Regions from separate parts of the Homo sapiens genome. Here region 1 is linked to region 2. Evidence: promoter capture Hi-C in human tissues and cell types (Jung and others, 2019). All regions are on one chromosome and are shown on one strand. The core of a region is centred on a gene start or on the middle of the fragment in contact, and the rest is flanking DNA. Distances in the headings are between cores, read along the strand shown. Region 1 holds the start of LOC105375191 (a long non-coding RNA gene). Region 2 holds the start of NPVF (neuropeptide VF precursor).

Evidence for each region. Contacts are between HindIII fragments. The study calls those that stand out against the background at their distance.
Region 1: a contact is called between a fragment that was not itself captured here and the fragment with the promoter of NPVF in region 2, in 2 of the 25 tissues and cell types used here (hippocampus and mesenchymal stem cells).

Annotation. Positions count from the first base shown.
Region 1 is chr7:25,184,754-25,192,527 of GRCh38, forward strand. The region is part of intron 1 of LOC124901603 (a long non-coding RNA gene); the gene reads left to right. It overlaps LOC105375191 (a long non-coding RNA gene), which reads left to right and starts at 2,152. Exons shown (of 3, transcript XR_927102.3): 1 at 2,152-2,286; 2 at 3,911-3,970. RefSeq lists an enhancer at 3,581-4,082. The HindIII fragment of the contact is 3,464 bases long and covers 4,210-7,673 here.
Region 2 is chr7:25,226,769-25,234,012 of GRCh38, forward strand. NPVF (neuropeptide VF precursor) reads right to left here and starts at 1,718. Exons shown (of 3, transcript NM_022150.3): 1 at 1,534-1,718; 2 at 1-258. The coding sequence starts at 1,671. The HindIII fragment of the contact is 3,738 bases long and covers 1,212-4,949 here.

The DNA.
Region 1 (7,774 bases), core at 4,692-7,191, 38 kb before region 2:
AGTTTCTTCTTCACTGATCCACACACACAAATATGGATGAAACGTGTATTCGATAGAGAGGGTGGGCATGGCACTTCTAGATGCAACTGACAGGAAGACATGCTGTCCCCCGGGGGCTCCAGCTGATGAGGACAGTCCGGGAGCATCCTGTGGTGTCACATTCTGTACTCAGGGCATGGTGATACCTAGTCAGGGAGGGAAGATGCGGTAAGTACCCAGCATCTTCATCGCCTCCTCCCTCACCACTCGCTCTGTAACCCCAGCCACCGGGGACTCCTTCTCCATTTCCATAAACCTGACATTTCCAGAATGTCATGTCAACTGAATCATACAACAGGGAGCCCTTTGGGATTGGCTTTTCTTGCTCATCATAACTCTCTGGGGATGCATCCAGGGTGCGGCTGGGGTCAGTAGTTCCTTCCTTTTCGCTGCTGACTTGTGTTCCATGGTACAGATGTTCCACAATTTCTTTATTCATCCATGGGAAGAAATGAGGTTGTTTCCAGTTTTGTGATTATTATTATGAGTAACACTGTGGTACACATTTCTGGACAGTTTTTGTGTGAACATTAGTTTTCATTTTTCTGGCTCAAATTTGACTGCTGGGTCATATGGTACTTAGAAAATTATCACTTCCCCAGGTCTTTTCTTGAAACAAAATATTTAAGATAAATATTCTTTAAAGAGATAGGCAGCAAAGGTGGAAAACATTTTCTCTTTTTTTCATTGTGAAATTGTAAACATTCACAGTTGTATGTGGGCGTTTTTTGTAGGAAAATCAACCCATTGAAAGAGATAAAATACCCCTTTCCTCTCTTTTTCCTGTCTCTTACATCTCCCTTACCACTTCTGTCTTTTTAAAACACCTTGTAGATTCACCAGACCAGAGTACTTGGGTAGCAGTGCCAAGATCAAGCACAGTGATTGCCATAAGTAACAGGAGTTCACGAATCAGCTCACCATGAAGAAACTGCCCATTGTAGACTGTTCCTATCTCAAAATAGTTGGCTTTCCAGAAAGCCAACTCTAGTGGCAGACTCGGTTTTTAGCCCACAGTACAACTTGCAGCCTCTTGGTTTGGTGTGCAGAGTTGTTTTTTTTTTTTTTTTTTTTGAGACACAGTCTCACTCTGTCACCCAGGCTGGAGTACAGTGGCACAATCCGGCTCACTGCAACTTTTGCCTCCTGGGTTCAAGCGATTTTTCTGCCTCAGCCTCCTGAGTAGCTGGAATTGCAGACGTGCATCACCACACCCGGCAAATTTTTGTATTATTAGAGACGGGGTTTGCCATGTTGGCCAGGCTGGTCTTGAACTCCTGACTTCTGGTGACCTGCCTGCCTCGGCCTCCCAAAGTGCTGGAATTACAGGCGTGAGCCACCACGCCTGGCCAACATTTTTAATAATTGCGGCAAGTCAGCAAGAACACAGAGGAAACAAGAGGGTGTGAGTGAATTGTCCTTCTGTCTGTGCTGTGGTAAACAAAAGCAGTGGCCTCACAGTGAAAGTAGGATGTGAGCTACTCTTCTAGGGGAGGGGAGTGGTTGTGAGAGAGTGGTTGTGTTTTTATTACTTCTACCCAAATTCCTCCAGCTACTCCCTCCTCAGGTTTTCTGTTGTTCTTTTACTTTAGAACAAAGGCCCTCAGCATTAGGATCCAGTACAGGAGTTGGCAAGCTCTTTCTCCAAAGGCCCAGATAGTGAAGGTGCCAGGCTCCACGGGCCACATGCGATCATACAGTCTCTGTTGCATGTTCTTCTTTCATTTTACAACTCTTTAAATGTGGAAAGCACCCATTCCTAGCTCACTGGCTGGAATGCGTGACTCCCGATCTAGGCAAAAGACTGTCTTCTGTCTGGTGAAAGAAACAAGTTGTTCATTTATTCTGCCACGAGTCATGGGTCTTTGTTTGGTTGTCTATGCTTTGCTGTGTTTGCTGTGAGATTACTTTTTGTATCCTTGGTGTTACACGGAACAATCCCATCATTTGAAGACTTGACTGGAACCCTGTAAATGAGGACTTGTATGGATTACCATTGTGTTATTGAATCTGTAATTCCATGTGTAGCTAAAAGGCAATTCAGTAAAATACAATGAGATACACAGGCACATGTTATCGGAGGAAGACCCTGAAGCCTCCAGTGACATTTCTGGTCTTCTTTCCTCTTCTCTCTGCCTTTTTCCTATTTCTGCAGTGATTTGAACACTCAGCCAAGCTGCAGCGGACAATCACCACGTACATGTTCCTTGCCCTGGAGCTGGACATGACCCCTTTCATGGCCTCCAGGTAGGCGGGGGTGTTGGCCTGTTCTGTGTCCAGAGGGACTGTGATCAGGACAGGAACCCAGCTCGGAGCTCCTGTGATAAGATGACTGTTGATATTAATATAAACCCCACCTTCCAAAAACCTATTTATCCTAATCCTAAGATAAGACACATTTTAATGAGTTTTTTTTTCCAGGTACACTGTTTTTGCTTTGAATGTTTCTCTAACAATTTTGAATCCACTTTCAAACTGGCAAAGTCATCAAGGTGGGATCACAGCGAGAAGGCAGAGCTTTAATTGGTGGAACAGGTGTTGAAGTACAGACAGACATCGTTGCTTTTGCAGTTGTAGATTGCATTTTCCTTTTCAAATATGTAATATCGTGGGGCCCTTGGAATTTAAGCCTCCAGAATACCATGCTGTTTACTAATGTGTGAGACACATATGAGTTTCCTATGGAACTGTGACAAACAACCAAAAACTTGGAAGCTTAGAACCACAGAAATTAATTTTCTCACAGTTCTAGAGGTTGGGAATCTGAAATCAAGGGGTTGGCAGGGCCCCACTTCCTACAAAGGGTCTAGGGGGATTCCATTCCTCACAGCCTCCAGCTGCTGGTGTTTCCATATGTTCCTTCTGTGGCCGTGTCCCTTCCCTGGCTTCCAGGTCACACAGCCGGCTCCCCCGAGTGTGTGTCCAATTTCCCTCTGCTTCTCTGTCAGAAACAGTGGTCATTGGATTCGGGGCCTAGGCAGATCATTCCAGGAGTGTCTCATCTCGATATCCTTACCTTGATTCCATCTGCAAATACCGTTTTCACAAATGAGGTCCCAGTCTCACGTTCTGAGGGTTGAGATGCGGATGTTATGATTTGGAGGATGTTATTTTTTAGAGGGCCACCGTCCCAGTGCCAGCACTGTAAAAAGCATGTTGCCTTTTGTTAGTTATCAGCCTCTTCCTGGTGTCCTTTCTCATGGCTGTCCCACCCATCTTGTGGCACACAGATGTCCTCTTGAATAACACAAGATCACCAGAGTCAGAGCTCTGTGTTGTCAGCCTGACCACGACGTCACATACCGAGGGAGGTGACAGTACTGTTGCTAAGGTCAGGGTCTCAAAGATCTTGTGTTTTCGGCCAACCACAGCCATGGGAAAACACGGCAATAACGCGTGGGACTTCCTGTTCCCAGCACCCGCATCTCCCCCATCTCACCAGGAGAGGTGCTGGTGGAGAAATAATGAGCAGCAATCTTTGCCCCTTTTGAGGAAGCAGTTGTCTAGGTTGTGGAATGGATTTGACTTACCCTTTTCAAATGAACCCTTTACATGTGGGAGGAAGAGTGCCTTCACCATCTCTGTGTCACACACCAAAGTCACATTTGTCCCAGATCCAATTCCCATCACCAGGCCCATTCAGGACCCAAGTTGGAAGGGCCAGGGTCCAGGCCAGGTGACTCTGGGACCCAGGTGGGCTCTGTCTCGGTATCCTCACAAAACGTGGGGTGATATTTACCTGAAACATAAAGTGCACCCCAGTGCAGTGTCTGCATGGTCGGGCCCGGATAAGTGTTGGTATCATGAGAGCCTTGTGTCTCTGTGTCTGATGATTTTAAATGATGCTGAATTCTGCTGTTGTTTGTTATAGCAAAGAGAGCGGGATGAATGGACAGTCCCAGCAGCCCATGGACAGTCTCAATAACAACAAGTAAGTGGTGCTCAGCGGTGCAGGTGTCAGGGGCCTGTGGCGGAGAGCCAAGGGTGGGCTCCTGTCTGCCCTGCAGGGCGCCCAGCAGAGCTCCTGCCACTGACCAGCTTCCTGCCTGGCTGTCTGCGGCTCTGCTAGGAGAGGCTGCTCCATGCGGCGCCACAGATGCTCCCTCCTGTTGGAGGAGCCCATCTCAACTCCTGGGTGCTGGGAGAAGGGAGGTTCCATCTGGAAAGCTCAGTGTCCATTCTTCTTGCCTTGTTTTGGACTAAGCTCATGCACTAGGCCCCACCTGTGGGGTCAGGATAGACCACATGGATCGGGAGGCTTCAGGAACTGTGCTGAAGATGGATCAGGTGACGGTTGTGCTCTGGGTGGGAGGAACAAAACAATGGCCTCCCAGAATTTTGTTTAAAAATATTCCCCCTTTTTGGTCAGGTTCTCACTTAGGTAAGAGTGTGACCAAAACTTAGGGCCTTCGCGCTACTCTCAGTTACCATCATTTTGGGTTTCTGGTCTCAGCACGTCATTGATAGGTTGCGGTGTCCTCAAGGTTGCATATTTCTTTCAGCTCTTGTCATTCTGGTTGAAGGGAGACCATGTGATGTTCTAGAGACGGCTGCATGCAAGCATTTAAAACCTTCGAGACAATACAGTGCACAAGGGAGACTATTCTTATGACTATTGGGAGGATAAAACAAAGAGTTTGCAGTTTGCTCCTTACCCAAGGTCCCCATAAGTCAAACATCCTAAAATCAAATAGAGCAAAGAATGAGCTAGATAAAGAGTCTACTCACTTAACAAGTAGTCTCTTTGTTAATCCCCTACCACTGAATTTCTATAATTTTCACCTGATGTATTTTTCCATAGGCCACAAGTGCCAGCAGTGGCACAGATACTTCTTGTTCTGCCAATTCTATCATAACTTACACAAGAGAATTTAAAGTTTCTGTGTCCTTACCTTTATAATTTGCTACAGAGTCTATCACGAGGGATACATTTCTAATCATTGCTTTTTTTACTTTAAACCATGGAAAAAGGGCCTGACAAATGATGCCCTTCTAGAAGAGTGAAGACCTCCTGGCAGTGTACTTTTTAACCCATGATGTGGGTTAAAAGGAATGAACCAATGTTTTGTTCATAACTGATTACGAGGCAATGTATGTACCATTAAAGTTTTGTACCTACATTGGGTCTTCATCTTTTATCTATCAAAGTATAAGTTTATCCATGTATAAGGCTGGCTGTAAACTTCTTCACAAATAAAAGTATACCCCACAAGTGCACATAACAGACTGACCCCCTAACCACTTCTATTGTTTATAGAAGCATAAGCAGGAAAAAATATTCAAAGATTAGAGTTTCATGATAATAGAAGTCTTAATCTGTGAACATGGAAAAAGCTGTTCACATCAAGATGCCATCTTCTTCTGGGGAGAAACTTTCCTGGCTAGTTTTACCTTAAGGATTTCAATGGGTGTAGAGTTCCAAGAGTGATGAGGGACCTTTCTCAGTTGTGAGATTATGAACCCAAAGTTCAAGGTCCTGAAATTTTGTAATAGTGTGGATGGCAAGGACAGTTTTTCTTTGACGTTCTCAGAAGATCCAAACCATAAAAAGTTTTCTTTACCTGGTGAAACTACACTGTAGCATAATAATCTGCTGTGATAACATCAGCCCTCTGGCATGGGAAAGCTTTTTTTTTCTTTTTTTGGAAACAGAGTCTTGCTGTGTCACCCAGGCTGGAGTGCAATGGTACGATCTCGGCTCACTGCAACCTCTGCCTCCTAGGTTCAAGTGATTCTCCTGCCTCATCCTTCTGAGTAGCTGGGATTACAGGCACCCGCCACTATGGCTGGCTAACTTTTTGTATTTTTAGTAGAGGCAGTATTTCGCCATTTTGGCCAGGCTGGTCTCGAACTCCTGACCTCAGGCGATCCACCTGCCTCAGCCTCCCAAAGTGCTGGGATTACAGGCATGAGCCACCGTGCCTGGCCAGGAAAGCTTTTATACAATCAGAAAACATGCACTGAAAATAACAGTTGCGTGAAATCCCTTTACGAAATGTTCAAATGGCCCACCAGGTGACCAAATGTACCTGAAGCTTTAATTGTTTTCCCATGAATATAGAGCCAAACATTGGTTATAAACTATTTTAGTAATTTGTAAGTTACTACATGAATGTATTCACTTTGGATTATTTTATCTTTTCCATGATGAGTCATGGAATGCAGAACTTTTAATAATAAAAACTTTAAGGACTCAAGAAGGACAAGGTGGTCATCCTGGTTCTCCATGAGTCCATGCTTATTAACATTAGATGTATATCCTCTCGAATACCAGTAGTTTTTCTAAATTAGGTGCATAGCACTGACAACTGATGAGTTATCAAAGGTAATTTGACTTAGACTGTGAAGTTTATTCAAATTGTATATCTAAACAATTTCAGTATCAGCTGGTTTAACATGAGAATCTGACTTTTCTTGGCATTTAATTTTTTTTTGTTCTACTTGGGTTAGTAGCTTTATACAAGGAAATTTGGTTATTTCTGTGGTTTACAGTAACTTAACATAATAACCATAATTATAATTGATAGCATATACTTACACATTAGAATTTTAGAAATCCCATACAATTTTGGAATATATATTAGTATTATTTACAAAAACATAACCTAAAGAAGATTGAACATCATTTTGGCAATCCCATATACCTAAACATGTCAAATAATCTCGTTTACTTCTTTTCCAGATGTTTTCAAGGGCCCTCTGATCAATTCAAAAAGCTAGGCATCAGGAAAGAAAATTTTAAAACTGAAGTTTGATTTTGGAATTCCAGATTACCATAAACTATTTATTTTGCCAAAATGATAACTCAGAAATTTTAAAGAAGCGAAAACCTTTTATAATCTTTTACAAAAAAAAATTCTTCTGTTCTTACACACCTTGCATGTAAAACTGTTTCTAGTAGTCTTAATTACATGTTATAATGGTGACTCTCAGCAATTTTAATTTTAATGTAAAACCTGGTAAGTTATGTTCTGATAAGGTTTGACTATTTCCAGCATTAGCCAGGGGTGCGGCCACCTCCACATGTCCTCAGGCCTTACCTGGTGGAAAGCAGACAAGTTAAACAACTTTCAAAAGCTAAAGGAGCAGTTTATGACCTTAAAGCATTTAGCAAACCTGAAATTTGAGCATAACTTAGGCCACATGTTTACATTTTGAAGACATTTGTATTTTACCAATAATCTTTAAGACTGTCTTTATTTCCCAAAGATTACACAAGTCACATGAACTAAATAAAAGGCATTACATTTTTCACTTTTTTGACAAAATATTTGATTTAAGCTCTTATTATTATTAAACCAATTAATTAAAGCTCTTTTGTATCAATTAAAACTTTACAGAGGAGATAAACAGTGACTTTTACTATTTATTTAACCAGTTTGTACAGAGAGAAAGAGGCCAGTGACTGGCTGGTAAGAAATTCTTACCCTTTTGCCAGCTTGCCACGTTTCTGGGTTCTCTCTCCCTGACCGGCCCTAGTTGACCCCGCTTGACTGTATGCAAACAAACACATTGCCATGAATTAGGAATATTCACAAATAGTTTACAAATTTTGGAGAAATTAGGCAGAGAGAGAGAGAAATGTGACTCAAATTCTATTTATTAGAGTATACTCAACACACTTAAAGTATCAGGGAGCCTAGAATCCAAAAAACTAGTTTTGGATAGAAAGCTGGTGTGCTCCATTAACTCCTGTGGCCCAACAAAGGCAGTGTAGAAATTCCAGATAAATGGA
Region 2 (7,244 bases), core at 468-2,967:
CCCAAACCTTTGGGGCAGGTTAGGAACACGTCTCACGAGGCTCACCTCCATATTTCTTCCAGATCTCAGAGGCAGGTTGGCTGTTGCTCCAGCACTTCTTTCTTCTTGAACGTTCCTCCCAAATCTCAATGGCAAGTTGGCGAAGGAGTGTGGCATTTTATTGACTGCAGGTGTACTCATCTTAATAACATTTTTTGGTCCCCAATCTTTTAATTCCTCAAAATTGAGGCTTCTTTCCCCTTTTGGGTATCCTCTAGGCTATAATTAGAAATGACCATTACAATAACATACTGTTGTTATAAGCAACAGATTTAAACCCCCAATTAACTTAAATCTAGACTTTAATCTGCAGAATTGTTAAAGCTATAAACAAAGTTTGTGTTCATATGTGCAGAATTTTTAAATGATTTGTATTAAGCTTTTTAAAGCAATATAGTTTCTCTGTCCCTAGACTATTGTAAGACAACCATAAAATATTTATAAAATATATATAGTGAATACAGCAATGAGTTCAAGCAGCAGGAACATAATGAAGTACTGAAATGTGGCAAAAGTTTATTTTACTGCAGTTATTCTCTTTTGGTTTTTTTGATTCATGTTGCTTATGGAATATTTTATATATTTTTATAATTTGATTTTAGAGAAACCTCCCACTCATTTTTCATGTTTCTCTTTAAAGGCCAAAGTGGCACATGGAAACACGGTACATCAAAACAGAGATGCTGGCCAGGTTTTGGGGTATAGTTGTAGAAGGCCCAGTGGATTTCTTTTTTATTCTATCTTACTCAGGGTACCACTCTAAAGCTTTCTCAAGAAACCAATTGCATTTTTATTAGAATATAAAATACATTTTTAGCAAAGAACTCATTGGTTTATGGGTTACTGCATCACAAGTATGCCAACTTTGTAGGAACCATCTCAAATACAGAGAATATTTAATTAGATTTAGTCTTTACCATAGGAGCTTGTCCATATGGAAATTTTTAAATGATTGTTTTCTGATTATCCCTTGAGTAAAATGAGTATACACGCTAATTTCATCAGATTTGGAAAACACATAAAAGAAAATAAAAACAATTTGCAATTTTACCATCTACAGGTAAACACTTTACTAAGATATAGATTTAGTACACATTGGCCAGTTTGTAATTGCTAAGCCCAAAAGAAATGTGTTTTTTGTTTGTTTGTTTGTAGTTTAAAACAATTTGAATGTCCAGCTGAAATGTACCCAAATCTTATTTCTGCCAACCATTTATTACAAATATGCACTTGTGAGTTGATTGAAAATTATTAATGCGCTGTATGCTTGCTAAGTACCATACTCACCAGTACAATTGTCATGACAGAGGCCAGCCTGATTGCTGTCGTGCTAAATAAACAAGTGACATTTATACATTGTCAGAGGAAGGCTGAAATTTCACAAAAAAACAGAGTACACACCAACTTACTTCTTAGTCTTTACAAAATCATTAGACTTAGGATTAATATTATGTAATTAATGCTACTCACATTAGAGAGATTTAAAAAACTTACCTCAGAATATTTGTCATAATTTTCTTTGCTGTGAAGATTGGACATCACTAATTCATCTGCACAAAAAATGTTTGATGTTAACAAGCTTGAAGTGGCTAAAGTCAATAAAATGAATAGTTTTGATGAAATAATTTCCATTTTGTCTAAATCTAAAATTAAGTCTCTATGTGCAGCCCAATGTTTATGAGAGGAGAAAAAAATTGTGGTGTTTTTATATCGTCTAAAAACAAAGGAAAGTTTTTTTTAAACAGTGAAATCAATCTCACACATTTTAAGTACTAATATTAATTAGAGTGTACAACTAAAATATGCATGTAAGGAATGTGAATAATTCATTCTGGGAAGACAGCAATGTTTGTGCTTGCAAATTCATTAACTTTGAAAATAATTTTCCTCATTATAAAAGAGCTTCTAATTAGGTAAGTTTGGGGGGATAGTAATTAAGATTCCAAACAGACAGAATGCTTCATTTCTCTAAGCTTAAACAAAAAGTATTTTGTTTTTGGTGTTTGTGTCAATTCTTGAGGGAAGGAAAAGGAAGTATTCAATCCATGCTAGCTATGTTTTTTTTTTTTTAATCTGCACAAAAGAGTTAGGCGTAGTATTTTCAAAATGTCAAGCAAAATTAAGAATGTGAAAAAAATTATAATATCCCAACAAAATGCCATGAATTAGTTTTTTTGTAAAATGCTGTTTGGTTATTAAAAAGCTTCAGGGGTCAATGTTAGCCGTAACATGAAGGATGTGTATATGAGCAAATACTTGATAGGCATTTTGACAAACTGGCGTCTCAGGAGAAGCTGGAGGCAGTCAGGCCCTCTGTATTTGCTCTATGGGTCTTATTTGGTAAAGCTGTGTCAATCACCAAAACTTTCTATCAAGATGCTGCATCCTACCTTCCCTCTCAAAGTCCTTAGGGAGACTAGCAGGGGCTTGGTAAGTCATACACATGCTAACTCTATTGGTCCCAGGACGCATATTATTTAGGTAATCGCGTATTGCCAAAGGTGTGCTGTCATCATGACATTAAAAGAGAATTTACAGAAATAAATGCGCATTTACTGAAATGCCAAAGCGAATCTCTTTTGGAGCAGCTGACTGTTCTTAAATATCTGCCTTATCACTAGACTGCCTGGGTTCTAGAGACACCTTTACTTGTTCCCACCAGTCCCTTCAGCCCTTTCAGGAGAAAAAGACTTGCATGGATTTCCTACAGTCCAGCTACTTCTAGACACAGACAGTTAGAGGTAATTCACAAAGAGTTGTAAAATTGCTCTGTTGTGTCTAGAACTGTGCCACCTCTCACCTCTCTCACCAACCTACCGTATGTAATTTGAGACGTGAGATGGCAGAAGTGAAGATCTTTCTTCATATTGATCTCCAGAACAAGCCAGAAAGTTGAAAAACCACAGTGGGTGAACTCTTGTGATACAAACTTGCCTATGGTCTCTCTTAAGGCATTTGACATCATTGGCTTCATTTGTTTTGGTTTGTAGTAGCCAAGAACCCCACAGTAGGAGGCAATTAATTCAATTCATAGTCTATCGTTAATTTTGTAATGCCATTATTGGATTATTTGGGTTTAATTTCCCTGAGGATTTAATACATTTCTCTTCCAAATTGTTCTTTTGCAAACTGCTGATGGAATTTCTTTGTGTGTGTGTGTGTGTGTGTGTGTGTGTGTGTGTGTATGTATGTGTGTGTAGTCAGTAGATCCAAACTTTTGAGAAATGAATGAATCAAGGGGCAAGTTTTGTTGACTGAATTCACACCCCAGAAAAAGCAGAAGGCATCAGCCTGAGTCTTTTTCAAAATGTATTTTTATCTAGTTGTCATTTTCAGATAAAATGCAAATTAAGCAGCTCACCAGTTTTCAGTGCTGCTACTAATGGGTGTTGGCAGATCCATTAGAATTTTCCTGATGACAATCAGCATACACATATGACTTAATTGCTCCCTGCCTCCACCAGGTTAGGACTCCACGTTTGGAAGGTAATTAGAATTATCTTATTAATATGGGGCTTGGGCCAGGCACGTGGCTCATGTCTGTAATCCCAGCACTTTGGGAGGCTGAGGCTGGCAGATCACCTGAGGTCAGGAGTTCAAGACCAGCCTGGCCAACATGCTGAAACTCCATCTCTACTAAAAATACAAAAATTAGCCAGGAATGGTGGCACATGCCTGTAATCCCAGCTACTCAGGAGGCTGAGGCAGGAGAATCGCTTGAATCCAGGAGGTGGAGGTTGCCGTGAGCTGAGATCACACCATTGCACTCCAGCCTGGATGACAGAGCGAGACTCTGTCTCAATAAAAACAACCAACCAACAAACAAACAACAACAAAAAAAAAACGGGTCTTGGCTCTTTTCAATTATATCTTCATTTAACTTTGAAAGTGTTAACAGATATAGAACATACAAAGTATGAAATCACCATAAATCTTTTGTTGAAATGTGCTACTGCATACACACATACAGATTAATTGGTTTAGGGTCTCTTGGTGAGACATATGAGGATATGAAAAATTTAAAAAAATCTCTCTCTCGGACTTGTGGCATTTAAATACATGCTTCATTTGCTAAGATTTTAGTGGCTCTAGGACTACTCAATTCTAAGCCTATCTCTTCAGGCTGGTCACTTCTCCTGAGCTTTTGAACCTCCCACTCAGCTTCCTACCAGACAGTGCTGTTTGGACATCCCACAAACATTTCAAGTTCAGTATGTCTGAAATGGAATTTATCTTTTCCATACCTATTTTTCCTCCTATGTTTCTCATTTCGATGAATAGTACTGCATCTGTCAGGGTCCAATCAGGAGACAGAAAACACACAGTAACTTGAACAGGAAGTGATTAATACAAATAATTATTAATTATAACAGGAAATTAACTATAAAGGGGTGAAGAATACACTACAGTTGAGAGACAATATCCAAGGAAAGAACAAGCTGGTTGGAATTTAGATCATATTGGAGAAAGTGTGATGGCAGGGAAGTTTGCTGCATTGCTCCTGGCCAGAACTTATCTGTAGTCTCAAGCAGGAAACCTTTTGGAATGTAGGTAGGTCAGGCAACTTCCGGAATATCTGTGAGACTCCTAGGAATCTCCCACTGAAACCTGATGGGGGTGAGCACCATTGGATGACCCCACATGTACTACTGGCAGCTGCACACAGAGAAGCAAGCAGATGCATGATTGGATCAGGAAAAGTACCTCTTTGCTTTAGTAACCCTTCAGTACCTTCTACTGACAGAACTTAAAATTATGCCTGCTGCAAAGGAGAAATTCTTACTGGGTCCATCTCCCTTATCTCAAAGCATGCATTGAAGGGTAGATGTAGAGCTATTGCAATAGGTCTATAACTGGCAAGGTTACTATCATCCATTCATTTATCCAGGCTAAATTCCCTTGTGAGATCCCTATTTCCTCCCACATCTTATTCTACAGTTGATGATAATTGTGTTTCTAGTTTTGGGCTGTTACACTCAATAATAATAAAAGCCAATTTTTAAAAGCATTTATCACGTTCCAGAAATTCTTCTAAGCATTCTGTGAATTAACTCACTTATCTTTCATAATAATCCCATGAGCAGCTACTATTATTGTGCCTACTCTTCAAAAAGGGAGACTGAGGTGCAGAGGAATTAAACAACTTTCCCAGTAAGTGTCAGAACCAGGGTATGAACACAGTCTAAACTTAATGACTACTAGTTTGCCTGATAAAGTCTGTTCTCTTCCAACTTCTAAATGGCTCTTAAATCTGCTCACTTCTTTCCACTCCCATGGCCATAACTCAATTTATCATTTTTCTCTTGCCTAGATCCTTTTCTTGATCTTTTCCAATTCTTTCTCCATGGTGTAATCAGACAATTTTTTTTAAAATTGAGACGGAGTCTTGCTCTGTGGCCAAGTTGGAGTACAGTGGTGTGATCTTGGCTCACTGCAACCTCCGCCTCCTGTGTTCAAGGGATTCTTCTACCTCAGCCTCCCAAGTATCTGGGACTACAGGCATGTGTCACCACGCCTGGCTAATTTTTTGTATTTTTAGTAGAGACGGGGTTTCACCGTGTTAGCCAGGATGGGCTTGATCTCCTGACCTGATGATCTGCCCTCCTTGGCCTCCCAAAGTACATTTATGACTTTCGTTCTTAATGTCTTTCAGTCATTTCCCATTTCCCTCAGAATCACTCAGGTCGCCTACCCTTCATGATCTGTACTCTATTTATCTCTGTTTATTTACCTGCATGGACTCTTGCCACTCCCTACCAGCTCCTTGCTTGACGATGAACTTCTTTCTGTTCCTCCAAATAGATGAGCTTTCTCTCGCCTCCAGGCCTCTGCCCATGATTTTCCGGTGCATCTAATGTTCATCCACTGGCCTCTCTCCTTCTCACACCTATTCATTGTTTGGGCCTCAGCTGAGGTATGATATGTTGTGAAAAGTCTCTCTTGACTTCCGTCTCTAAGACATAGCTGTTTTTTCTTTGCTAATCGTTGCTCTTATCACTCTAACTTGTCCTGAACCATCCATGGCTCCGCAAACTTTGTGAGGGAAGGAGCTTGCTTGTGTAGAATGTAGGAGTATTTTCATTGTCTATTGCACAGATGCCCAGGAAATTTTATTTCTAAGTGAATTAGTAATTTTTTTATTATTATGGGAAATAGGAGTTAAAACTGAAGTTGTTTAGTTATTTTTCCCCAGCGTTGGCCTAGGTTTGTGGCTTGTCGTGAAATCACAATGTCTTAACATTATCTTTTTGGGATTTCACATTGAAGACTTTCCCAGACTGAGCTCTATACAATTAAGTATAAGTAGGTTGAATGTGAGTTTTGGTTTATTCTGTTTCTAGTTTAATATGCAGTTTGATAAGTTCAATATGTTCTGATGGATCTTACTGTGTTGATGGCCATCAGTTGTGCCCAAACACCAGGATGGGTAGGAACAGGGACTGCGCAGCCCCAAGGAGTGCTTCCTGGTGAGGCTTCAGGGTCTCCCACTAGGCCGACTTCAGAACAGAAAAGGGTTCTCTGCTTGCTTATTATCTCTCTATGCCCACTAGCCACATCCTAACTTCGGGCAGGCAGGTAGAATGGGAGTTCAATTTCACCAGTCAGAAAAGGAGCTGACTTGAGTTTGGGTTTTTGACTTTGTGAGATTCTAGACTATTTGCACTTCTAGTAAATATTTAAAATAAGAGGTTTTGTGCCATGGGCTGCAAGTTTCTACTTAAATCTTTATGTAGAAGGGGCAGCTCACTCTATGCATAGTTCCATGCTTCTTAAGGTCATAGTGAGGGCTACCAAAAAGGTGGTTAATTTAATATCTGGAGGAGCCCCATTACAGAGCCCTTCTCCTCAACCCAGCAGCATACTTCCAGGGCACTTGCCTTTTTATAATGTTTATTTCTTCTTTTCCATCTAAGTATAACCTAGTTGTTATAAGGAAGTATTTATAGGCATTAGAGTCTTATTTTGCATTTCATGTTTGCAAAGTATTTTGCAACCATTTGGGAACTAATTCAGGCCTTCTTTAGAGACGGATGGTAGTATTACCATATAATTCATTTCAGCATTATGTGTGGCAAGGAGAAAGAAATACCTGCCTTTGTTCCAAATAAAAACATCCTATGCAAATTGTAAAAAATTCTTATTAAAAAAAGTATGGTAGTACTTTTTTTCAGGATTTATGAGTGGCTTGTTATAATCAGCTTGTC